4 separate regions of the Homo sapiens genome follow, and regions 2, 3 and 4 are each linked to region 1. Evidence: promoter capture Hi-C in 16 types of primary human blood cells and fetal thymus (Javierre and others, 2016). All regions are on one chromosome and are shown on one strand. Each heading gives the region's core, a stretch centred on a gene start or on the middle of the fragment in contact. The rest is flanking DNA. Distances are from core to core; before and after follow the strand shown. Region 1 overlaps EXOSC10 (exosome component 10). Region 2 holds the start of MFN2 (mitofusin 2). Region 3 holds the start of KIAA2013. Region 4 holds the start of DRAXIN (dorsal inhibitory axon guidance protein).

Region 1 (2,746 bases), core at 165-2,664:
TCCCAGCTACTTGGGAGGCTGAGGCAGGAGAGTGTTGTGAACCCGGGAGGCAGAGCTTGCAGTGAGTCGAGATCGCATCACTGCACTCCAGCCTGGGCGACAGAGCGAGACTCCGTCTCAAAAACAAAACAAAACAAAAAAAAGAGTAAGGGAAAATACTCACCACTCTCTCCAGAATTACATCATTGGCATCAACTAGTAAATCAAACTTGTCTTCCAGCTCAGTCACTTTACTTCGATCCTTAATGTTGCTGCGACACCCATGGTACTGCATTACTCTGCTCATGCTAAGGAAAGGAAAACCAAGGTTAGCTTGTAGATTTTTATTTCACTTGTTTACATTCTGTGAGAGAGAATGTTCAAATGATGTGGCTCAGACTGTTCCCAACACATCTTTTTTTTTTTTTTTGAGACAGTCTTGCTCTGTTGCCCAGGCTGGAGTTCAGTGGCATGATCTTGGCTCTCTGCAACCTCAACCTCCCGGGTTCAAGCGATTCTCGTGTCTCAGCCTCCTGAGTAGCTGGGATTATAGGCACATGCCAACAGGTCTGGTTAATTTTTGTATTTTTAGTAAAGATGAGGTTTTGCCATGTTGGCCAGGCTGCTCTCGAACTCCTGACCCGAAGTGATCTGCCTGCCTCCGACTCCCGGATTCAAGCGATTCTCATGCCTCAGCCTCCTGAGTAGCTGGGATTATGGGCACACGCCACCAGGTCTGGCTAATTTTTGTATTTTTAGTAAAGATGACGTTTCACCACGTTGGCCAGGCTGGTCTCGAACTCTTGACCTGAAGTGATCCACCTGCCTCGGCCTCCCAAAGTTCTGGGATTACAGGTGTGAGCCATGAGCCCAGCCTTTTTCTTTCTTTCTTTCTTTCTTTTTTTTTTTTTTTTTTTTAAAGAGACAGGGTCTTGCTCTGTTACCCAGGCTGGAATGCAGCAGTACAATCACAGCTCCCTGTAGCCTTGAACTCCTGGGCTCAAGTGATACTCCCACCTCAGCCTCCCAAGTAGCTGTGACTTGGGAGTGGTGCACCACCACTCCCAGCTACTTTAAAAATTTTTTGTAGGGATGGAGTCTCCCTACGTTGCCCAGGCTGGTCTTGAACTCCTGGGCTCAAGCGATCCTTCTGCCTTTGCCTCCCAAAGCACTAGGATTACAGGCATGAGCCGCCATGTCTGGCCCCTGATACTTTTTGATGAAACCAATAAAACTTGCACCCTAGCTGGGCGCAGTGGCTCACACCTGTAATCCTAGCACTTCAGGAGTGGTCACGACTTCGAGACCAGCCTGGCCAACATGGTGAAACCCCATCTCTACTAAAAATACAAAAAACTGGCTAGGCGCAGTGGCTTATACCTGTAATCCCAACACTATGGGAGGCTGAGGTGGGTGGATCACAAGGTCAGGAGTTCGAGACCAGCCTGGCCAACATGGTGAAACCTCCTCTACTAAAAATACAAAAATTAGCCGGGAATGGTCGTACATGCCTGTTATCCCAGCTACTGGGGAGGCTGAGGCACAAGAATCGCTTGATCTTGGGAGGTGGAGGTTGCTGCGAGCCGAGATCACGCCACTGCACTTCAGCCTGGGCGACAGAGCAAGACTCCGTACTCCCCCCCAACAAAAAAAAAAAAGCTGGTCGTGGTGGTGTACACCTATAATCCCAGCTACTCGGGAGGCTGAGGCAGGAGAATCGCTTGAACCTGGGAGGCGCAGGTTGCAGTGAGCCGAGATTGAGCCAATGCACTCCAGCCTGGGTGATGGAGCGAGACTCCATCTCAAAAAAAATAAAAATAAAAATAAAAATACCTGCTACTCTACAAGTTGTGGGAAAGAATCTTGGATCTGGCAAGGCGCGGTGGCTCACGCCTGTAATCCCAGCACTTTGGGAGGCCGAGGCAGGTGGATCACGAGGTCAGGAGATCGAGACCATCCTGGCTAACATGTTGAAACCCTGTCTCTACTAAAAATACAAAAAATTAGCTGGGCGTGTTGACGGGCACCTGTAGTCCCAGCTACTCAGGAGGCTGAGGCAGGAGAATAGCGTGAACCTGGGAGGCGGAGCTTGCAGTGAGCCGAGATCATGCCACCGCACTCCAGCCTGGGCAATAGAGCGAGACTCCGTCTCAAAAAAAAAAAAGAATCTTGGCTCTAAGTGTTCACGTCCCATTTAATTAAAAAAGATTTGTACAAAAGTCAATATATTTTTTCAGTACAAAAGTCAATACATTTTTTAAAGGCTAAACTAAAAATATACCAAGTAATATTTCCCTAATCAAAATCCATTGCTTCAATTTTCACATTTTATAGCTCTTCATACCACAGAAAATGTTTAAGGAAAAATAAATTTCAGGAAAAATTTATCTACTTCTTTGTTTTCATTTCTTTTCACTAACACAAGAAAACAAAGTACAGTACTTACCACTGAAGCAACCTGTCTCCCTGTGTTTCGCAAAATGCTTGGAAGCCAGGAAAACTTCGGTAAAAATCATACTCATCGCCAAACTGTGGTAGGCCCCCAGATGCCTTGGTGACTGCCACCACGGACCCAAGAGCAAACTGTCAAAAACAAGAAAAGATGGCATGTTTACACAGGGATCCCCATTCATTTGGTATGTCATTTTTTTGATCTATCGTATACAAGGTATCTACTCTTCATCCATCAAAAAAAGCACTCATTTAGTGCCAAACCCCAATCTAATCTAGGCCCTGAGAATACAATACTGAACAGGAAACCAAGTTT
Region 2 (2,746 bases), core at 119-2,618, 880 kb after region 1:
GAAATGCTTCCCCATGTCTACAAAAGATAAATACTAGGCATGGCTGCAGCATCTGTGGTCAGCTACTTGGGAGGCTGAGTGAGGTGGGAGGATTACTTGAGCCCAGGAGTTCGAGGCTGCAGTGAGCCGTGATTGCACCACTGCACTCCAGCTTGAGTGAGAGTGAGACTCTGGCTCAAAGATAGATTTTTTTTTTCTTTTTTGAGACGGAGTCTCTGTTGCCCAGGCTGGAGTGCAGTGGCATGATCTCGGCTCACTGCAACCTCCACCGCCCGTGTTCAAGCGATTCTCCTGCCTCTTCCTCCCGAGTGCACTATCATGCCTGGCTAATTTTTGTATTTTTAGTACAGACGGGGTTTCACCATGTTGGCCAGGCTGGTCTTGAACTCCCGATGCACCCGCCTCGCCCTCCTAAAATGCTGGAATTACAGGCTTGAGCCACCGCGCCCGGTCGATATTTTTTTTTCCTAAAAATTGAGATAGTTTAACAGCCTTTTTTGTCCTAAGTCTTATAGCGCATCTCCGTTTGCACTGGCTCAGGACTCGAGAGCCACACGTGGCTAGTGCCTACTGTTCTGGCGCGCTCAGGCTTGGAGCCTTCTCTGCGGAGGCCAAGTCCTGCAAGGGATCTGTTTGCTGCGGTTTCCTAGTAGTGTCTGCCGCATCACTGGGGCCCGGTGATCTGGGTAACCATGTGAGCTTGGGTAACCTCTCCTCTCCCTCTCCTGGGACTGCTGTGGACGTTAAATACAGCGGTGGATGTTAGAGACGCAGTTCAGTCACTGGCATTGATTCGCCGTTGTTGCTGCTCTTCTTTCCTCAAAGGCGACTGAAGGGCAGCAGGCCCATGCTCGCTTCTGTCTGCCCGATGAGTCACTTCACCCTAGGCCTGGCCCTCTAGAGAACACTCCTCTAAGATTACAGAATGCAAATCTGGATTCCAGAGCTGGCAGAGGCCCCAGGGTCAGGCTCTAGGACAACCGGCGAAAAAGCGGGAACCTCTACTCCACGCCCTTGGTTTTTCGCCCCTTGACAGCTTGAGGCTCCGCCCCGCTTTGCCCCGCCCCCCCAGCTCCGGCCGACGCCCACCGGAACTACAGCCCCCATGATGCAGTGGGAGTCCGAGCCTCTGCGTCGTCCGCTTGGGACGCGCCGGCGGAGGAGTGGCGCGCGGAGGAGTGGCGCGCTGAGACGCCGCTCGAAGCGCCGAGTCGCGGGGCAGCAGAGGCGTAAGGAGTAGGCGGGGCGAGCCGGCTGGGCTCAGGGTCCACCAGCTCACCCGGGTCGAGGGGCAATCTGAGGCGACTGGTGACGCGCTTATCCACTTCCCTCCTCCCGCCTCCCCCTGGGGTGGCGCTCGCTGGTGACGTAGTGAGTGTGATGGCCGCCGCGAGGCCGGGAAGGTGAAGGTGAGAGGGCGAGCAAGCCGGGGTGGCGGGGACTGGCCCGGCCCGGCCCGGCGAGTCCTGAGCAGCTCGGCGTGGGCCGACGGGATTCTGGGGCCACGGGGGTCTGGGATGCAGTCAAGCGGGGTCCCCACTCTCCGGCCTCGCCGCCGGGCCCTCCCCGGCCCTGAGAGGAGGGGGCGGGCCACGGGACCTGGGACTGGTCGGTGGGGTCCCCTGTAGCTTCTCATCGCCCCCGCCTTTCCACCCTTCACGGCCATGTTCTACCCCTGCCCCTTCTCTATTTTTCATCCTGTCTTCATTTTGCCAGCATTTACTCAGCACCTGATAGGTGTCCACGTTCACCGCGGGAGCGCCCTGCCATCCCCACTTTGGGCAGTTACTGCCTTCTCGTTCAGCCCTGTTTACTTATATGACTTCTCACCGGACTGTAAGGCCCTGGAGGGCAGGACTGTTTCTTATCCATTTCTAACGTGGCGCCTGACACACACAGAGAAGGCACACAGAAAATGTTGAATAAATAGCTGTTAAGACGCACGAAGGCAGAACTGCCCGTTACCCCCTCTCGTAATCCTTCATTGCCCTCTTTAAATTCTCAATCATCTCTCTCTCTTCTACCCAGAAAAGGGCTCTGGTTATCTCTTTTCTACCCAGAAAAGGGCTCTGGTTATCCGCCTCTGGTGTCCCAAGGTTTGGGGCTTGGGGGAGGAAGGCAGCTCAATGTAGTTAAAAAAGGAAGGAGGCCGGTCGCAGTGGATCACACCTGTAATCCCAGCACTTTGGGAGGCTGAGGCGGGCGGATCACCTGAGGTCAGGAGTTGGAGACCAGCCTGGCCAACATGGTGAAACCCCGTCTGTGCTAAAACCAAAAACTAGCCGGGCTTGCTGGCACACGCCTGTAATCCCATCTACTCAGGAGGCTGAGGCAGGAGAATCGCTTGAACCCGGGAGGCGGAGGTTGAGCCGAGATCGCGCTGCTGCACTCCAGGAGCTTTGGAGTCAAAGGGAGCTAATATTTCAGATCCCAGCTTAGACAAATCTTCAAGTATTCCAGCCCTCTGTCCCACAGAATAGAGAATTAAGTGAGATACTTTACAGTAGCTGAACACATTGGCTTTCAGTCAGTTCTTCTGTTCCTCAATAGTCAGCTGTTCCACAGTCCTCAAGCCCAGTTTTGTTCCTAGTTTTGCTCTGTCCTCTTCTCCCCTCTCTGGATGTACCTTTCCCAGGGCTCCTGCAGGGACCTCCGTGGTGCCTCAAACCCGCACATGGCGGAATACGTGTGCACAGTCAGGATTGGTCCCACACCTCTGCGTTTTTTTCCCCAGGGCACTTCCTCA
Region 3 (2,746 bases), core at 144-2,643, 830 kb after region 1:
AGATTAGGCGACGAATCCAAAGGTCGCACAGACACTAAGCAGTTGAGCAGATTCAACCACTGGTGAAACGCCAAGCCCAAGTTTCAACCACCCCACCATCACCTTCAGTGTCACCTCTGCAGACTTGGGAGGGACATATCTAGGGTGGACCAAGCGCTGGCCAGGACTCACCTGGGCTGAAGAGCTGAGCCCAGAGGAGCTGGTGGTCTTGAAGCAGCTCCGCCGCTGGCATGTCCAAGAGCTCCAGCATTTCCTTCCGTGCCAAGTCCTGCAGCGCCTTGAGCTCCTTGGCTGCTTTGCTTTTGAGCACCTGGGGGTTAATGGGGCCAGAGACGTGCACCACCCACAGCACCGTCTCATCCAGCTGCGTCTTGGGAGCCACTTGGAGGCGGTTCACCAGCTTCTTGGCGGCCACCACCACCAGGTGCACCAACCCAGTGGGCGTAGGCGGGGACCGGCCTGAGTAGAGGAGGAACTGATGGTCTCCGACCTTCTCCAGGGTACTGGTGAAGGCCTTGGGGGCTGGGCCGGCAGTGGGCCCCACAGTCTGCAGCGCGGCCACGCGCTCCGTGGGGTTGTTGAGCTGGATGCGCTGCAGGTAGACGTGGGGTCGGCCCCTGTGCGCCAGAAAGTCCTCTTGCAGCAGCACGCAGTCGCGGCCGGACCCCGCGGCAAGGCCAGAGACGGAGGCGGGCCCGGGGCCGGCGGCCACGGGGCCAGGACCTGGGGACCCCAGCTGCAGGCAACGCACGCGGCGCAGAAGCCCCTCCCGCAGCAGCAGCACCGCCTCTCCAGCTTCAGCCAGCGCGCTCAGCGGGCGCAGCTGCACGAAGGGCACAAAGTCCGGCGCCACGGCGGGCTCCCGCTCCCCGGGAGTCACCCACAGCCGATTGGCAGCCACGTCCAGGGCCAGGAAGCCGTTGGCCACCAGGGCCGGCACTCCAGGACCCAGCGGTACCACCTCACCGCGCTCCCGCAGGCCGCGCCAGGCGCGGGTGGCCGCCTCCAGGCAGGCAGACGGCTCGGCGGCGCCCGGCTCACCGCGGGACCAGGGCAGCAGGTGCAGGCCGCCCGCCGCCCGCCGCGCGCCGGACCCCCCAAACCACAGAAGCAGCAGCAGGAGGCCAAGCAGGCAGAGGAGGCGGCGGGCCCAGCTGCTCGACAGCAGTCCCGGCAGCCCCTTGAGCCGCTGCTGCAGCCACATCGGGCCGCCAGGCGCGGGCAAGGGTGCGAGGGCGGCCGCCGGGCCCGCCGCCCAGCCCACCGGCCCGGCCGCCCGCGCCTCACTGCCCGGCCCGGACCGCGGCGCCCACCCCGGCCCCCGCCGCAACCGCCGCAGCAGCCGCCACCCCTGCTTCCTCCTTCTTCTCGGTGGCCTCCAGCCGTCAAACGACGCCGGCGGTCAAGCGTCGCCGTGTCTTTTACGACAGATGGAAAACGGGAGGGCGGAGGGAGGAGAGAGAGCAGGCCGGAGAGAAGGGGGCGGAGCCACGGCGAGGGCGGGACAAAAGCTGCCGGGGGCGGGACCACTCGTTCCCAGGCCGGAAGAGTGAAGTCCAGTGGAGTTAAGTGCAGGGGTCTGGGGAGGACTGGAAGCATCCAATTCACTCGTGAAAAAAACATCGAGCCAGCCAAACCGAACACGTGTTGGGCCCCTTTGCTACTGATGGATTCAACAGCCCCAAAATTTAAAAACATACACACACACACACACAACAACTTTGTTTCTGTAAAAATGACCATCCTCTCGCCGCGCGCGGTGGCTCACGCCTGTAATCCCAGCACTTTGGGAGGCCAAGGCGGGCGGATCACGAGGTCAGCAGTTTGAGACCAGCCTGACCAACATGGTGAAACCCCATCTCTACTAAAAATACAAAAACTAGCCGGGCGTGGTGGCGCATGCCTGTAATCCCTGCTCCTCAGGAGGCTGAGGTAGGAGAACTGCTTGAACCCGTGAGGCGGAGGTTGCAGGCTTGCAGTGAGCCGAGATCACGCCACTGCACTCCAGCCTGGGCGACAGAGTGAGACTCTGTCTCAAAAAAAAAAAAAAAAAAAAAGACTATCCTCACTGCAAAAAAACACTTGGAACAATACGAAAAAGTGGAGGAAAAAAAAAGGAGAGAGAAGAAGAGGAAGAAAGAAGAAGAAAGGAAAAGGGAGGAGGAGGGGAAGGGGAACCACCAGAGGCCAGGAGTGGTGGCTCACGTCTGTAATTCCAGCACTTTAGGAGGCTGAGATGGGCAAATCACTTGAGGTCAGGAGTTCGAAACCAGCCTGACCAACATGGTGAAAACCTGTCTCTACTAAAAATACAAAAATTAGGCTGGGCACGGTGGCTCACGCCTGTAATCCCAGCATTTTGGGAGGCCGAGGCCGCCAGATCACGAGATCAGGAGATCGAGACCATCCTGGCTAACACGGTGAAACCCTGTCTCTACTAAAAATATAAAAAATTAGCCAGGCGTGGTGGCAGGCGCCTGTAGTCCCAGCTACTCGGGAGGCTGAGGCAGGAGAATGGCGTGAACCCGGGAGGCGGTGCTTGCAGTGAGCCAAGATCGCGCCACTGCACTCCAGCCTGGGTGACAGAGGGAGACTCTGTCTCAAAAAAAAAAAAATAAATAAATAAAAATAAAAAAATAAAAATGCAAAAATTAGCTGGGCGTGGTGGTGGGCGCCTGTAATCCCAGCTACTTGAGAGACTGAGGCACGAGAATCGCTTGAACCAGGGAGGCAGAGGTTGCAGTGA
Region 4 (2,746 bases), core at 82-2,581, 590 kb after region 1:
CAGCTAATTTTACAGGAGCATTTCCTATGGGCCAGACCTTAGAAACGTTATCTCCTTACACAGGGCACTGCATTCACGCCTAGAACACTGAAATTTAGGTATAATCATGAGCTCAGAGGTCAGGCGACTTGCTCGAGGTCATAGGGGACGGCATCAGAAGAGGAACACAGACATTTAGCCTGACGGCAGAACTGTGTTCTAAAACCTCAAAGTCATAATTTGCCACACGCTGGAGAAAGAAAACAGTCGAAATGGAAGCCACCTGGCGAGCTCAGGGCGCCAGGTGGGAGCGCTGCTTCCCACATATGGGAGTCCGGCCCCATCGCTCTTTGATCTTTGCAGCGTCCGTGGCCCCACCGACCCCGTCGTGAGTTATGGGAGGCACGGGACCCATAACCCAGCATTCTCAGACTCCCAGGGTCGTCAGGACACGGCGCCCCGCGCGGTGATGGATGAGCCGGCCCCAGCGCTGGCTTTGTCCGGGTTGGGCCGGTCTGAGAAGCTTCAGGCCGGCTTTGGACGGGGCGTGGCGAGAGCCGCGCCGCGTGTGAGTGTGTGTGTGTGTGTGTTTGTGTGTGTGTGTATTGGGGCGGTTGTCTTTCTCCCTTCCCTACCGGGAAAGAGGGCACAGGTGCGCCGTCAGCGCCCCAGGTGAGCTGGTAGCACTTTGAAGACCCTTTGTACCCCTACATCCAGGAGCGACCTCTCGGAGAACCCCGCCTGCCCACTCTGCGCACTTTCTGCGGCTACAAAGGCCCCGCCGTTCCCCGTCCCGCCTCCCCCGCCCTGGGCATTTCTTCCGTCCCTTTTGACAGTCTAGGCGGAATAATCCTTTTGTGGCCCCGGGCCCCTGCCCTGACAGACGCGGCCGCAGCTGAGCGCGCAGCCTCGCTCCATTGTTGGGGTCCACCGAGGACCGCCCGCCGCGGCCCTTTGTCGCCCGCCCTGCGCGGGGCCGCTCCAGAGGCGCCACAACTGCCGGAGCCCCTCCCGTCCCACGCGCCCTGGGCCGCGCCGAGGCGGCTCTTACGCACCGGGAGGAGTGGGCCTGCCTCGCCCGGTGCCCGCACGGCTGCTGGGCTGCGCCCGCCTTTGTCTGCCTCCTTTGTCTGCCCCGCGCCCTCGCGGCGGCGGCGCCTAGGCCTCTGGGGAGCTGGCCCAGAACTCAGAGCGCAGCTGGCGAGGGCGCGCTGGCCGGGTGCGCGCCGGGCCCGGCCCCGGGGCTGCCCCTCGGCTGGGGGCAGTCGAGCCCGCCACCCGCCGCCCCTCCTCTGTCCCCTCCCCGCGCTCCCGCCCCCTTCCCTCCTGCCCGCCCACTCCCCCTTCCTTCCAGTCCCGCTCAGCCCGGGCACATCCTCCGGCTGCCCGCGCACCTCTCCACGCCGGCCCCGTTCCGCGGCTCGCCCTCGGCTGCGCTCGGCTCCCGCGGGCGCTCGGCCCCGAGCCCCTCCTCCCCCTACCCGCCGGCCGGACAGGTAAGGCACGGCCTCGGCCCGCCCCTGGCTCCGCCCCTCCCGCCCCACCTGGCTGCGAGCCCGGACAAAGGTGGGCTACCTGGCGCGCCCAGGGGCGGGGTGCGCGGGGTCCCGAGGCTGGAAGTGAGGATGCTGCCTCCTTCCCAGCCCTCGGACCCGTCTATCCGCCAGTCCTTCCGCCGCCTCCTCTCCTCGCCGCGTCTGCCCACGGACCCTGGCTCTGCTCCCGGGCTCCCCATCCGTCCACCTACCGCTGGACGCCCACTTTTCCACGCTCTGACACTCGGCCTCGCGCGCGCCCTCGCCGCCCTCTGGGGTCCCGGCTCGCACCTACTCTCCTCGGCACTAGCCTTCTCTCTCCCTGACCCAGTCTCCCTTTGTCTCTCTGTCTCTGAGTCTCCGGGTGGTCTCTCAGGCAGGGGGCCCCAGTCCGCCACCGTTGGAAGAAGTCTTCGAAGACTCCCTGAGCCCCGGGCAGAGCTGGCGGGCGTGCCCTCCAGCCCCTTTCGAGGCCGCCCAGGAGGCTGGGGTGTGTGGCCGGGGTCGCTGAGTGCGCCCGGAACCAGCACCGCCGGTGGCCCCGCGCCGTCCCATCTGTGCCCAGGAAGGTACTCAGCCTGGCTCCCCCGACGGCGCTGGTCTTTCGCCTGTGGTCTCCCGCTCTGTCCCTCCTGCTCCCCACCGCCGGCTTTTGGCTTTTCTCCGTCCGCTCGTCAAGGGTCTCAGCCGCCTTCGGGGCCGGGGTATGAGATGAGAGAGGGCTGGGGTTTCCCGCCAAGTCTTTCTTGCTTTCCTCAGCTGGGTGCTCCCTGGGCCATCCTCTCCGCCCGGTGGTCTCCCCTGCCCTATATGCTCCCTCCACGCTGCCCACCTCCCAGCCCAGTGACACACTGGTGTCTGGAACCGGTTCAGTACTATGCATCTGGAGTCGGGTACACTGGGGCTCTGGGAGTGATCTCGGACAAAGGAATGCACCTCTCTGAGCCTCAGTGTTCCTGTCACAAAACAGGGATGGTGCTAGTCCCTACCTATAGGGATGTGTGTGGAAATTGTGGGGTGCCGCTTGGTGCTGGTTCACACACCCTGTGGAGGAAGGGAGGGGAGGGGAGGGGAGTCTACAGACCTGGGATGGGGTGGGGACAGGGGGCTCCACAGAAATGGATCTCAAAGTCAAGGCTTAGAGACACTTCAGAGTAACCCCACCACCACAGCCTCTTCCCCCATCACACTTCCTGTCACCTTCACCTCCTCGTGCCCATACAGGCGTCCAC

Evidence for each region. The method cuts DNA at HindIII sites, captures the fragments that hold promoters and counts their contacts. A CHiCAGO score of 5 or more calls a contact.
Region 2: the fragment with the promoter of MFN2 here is called in contact with a fragment that was not itself captured in region 1 in 4 of 17 cell types (neutrophils, total B cells, naive B cells and 1 more); the score reaches 5.8 in neutrophils.
Region 3: the fragment with the promoter of KIAA2013 here is called in contact with a fragment that was not itself captured in region 1 in 2 of 17 cell types (total B cells and naive B cells); the score reaches 6.6 in total B cells.
Region 4: the fragment with the promoter of DRAXIN here is called in contact with a fragment that was not itself captured in region 1 in 1 of 17 cell types (total B cells); the score reaches 5.2 in total B cells.

What each region holds. Positions count from the first base shown.
Region 1 is chr1:11,095,595-11,098,340 of GRCh38, forward strand. EXOSC10 (exosome component 10) reads right to left here. Exons shown (of 25, transcript NM_001001998.3): 2 at 2,426-2,562; 3 at 164-287. Among named protein-coding and RNA genes, the nearest start is that of EXOSC10-AS1, 2.7 kb to the right of the region's middle. The HindIII fragment of the contact is 3,359 bases long and covers 1-2,746 here.
Region 2 is chr1:11,979,076-11,981,821 of GRCh38, forward strand. It overlaps MFN2 (mitofusin 2), which reads left to right and starts at 1,369. Exons shown (of 19, transcript NM_014874.4): 1 at 1,369-1,409. RefSeq lists silencers at 985-1,244, 1,415-1,654. The HindIII fragment of the contact is 7,841 bases long and covers 1-2,746 here.
Region 3 is chr1:11,925,034-11,927,779 of GRCh38, forward strand. It overlaps KIAA2013, which reads right to left and starts at 1,394. Exons shown (of 3, transcript NM_138346.3): 1 at 172-1,394. The coding sequence starts at 1,204. RefSeq lists enhancers at 338-1,000, 1,001-1,664, 1,319-1,613 and a silencer at 1,249-1,318. The HindIII fragment of the contact is 9,969 bases long and covers 1-2,746 here.
Region 4 is chr1:11,690,379-11,693,124 of GRCh38, forward strand. It overlaps DRAXIN (dorsal inhibitory axon guidance protein), which reads left to right and starts at 1,332. Exons shown (of 7, transcript NM_198545.4): 1 at 1,332-1,475. It also overlaps a transcript of MAD2L2 not described here. RefSeq lists enhancers at 1-139, 140-647. The HindIII fragment of the contact is 12,625 bases long and covers 501-2,746 here.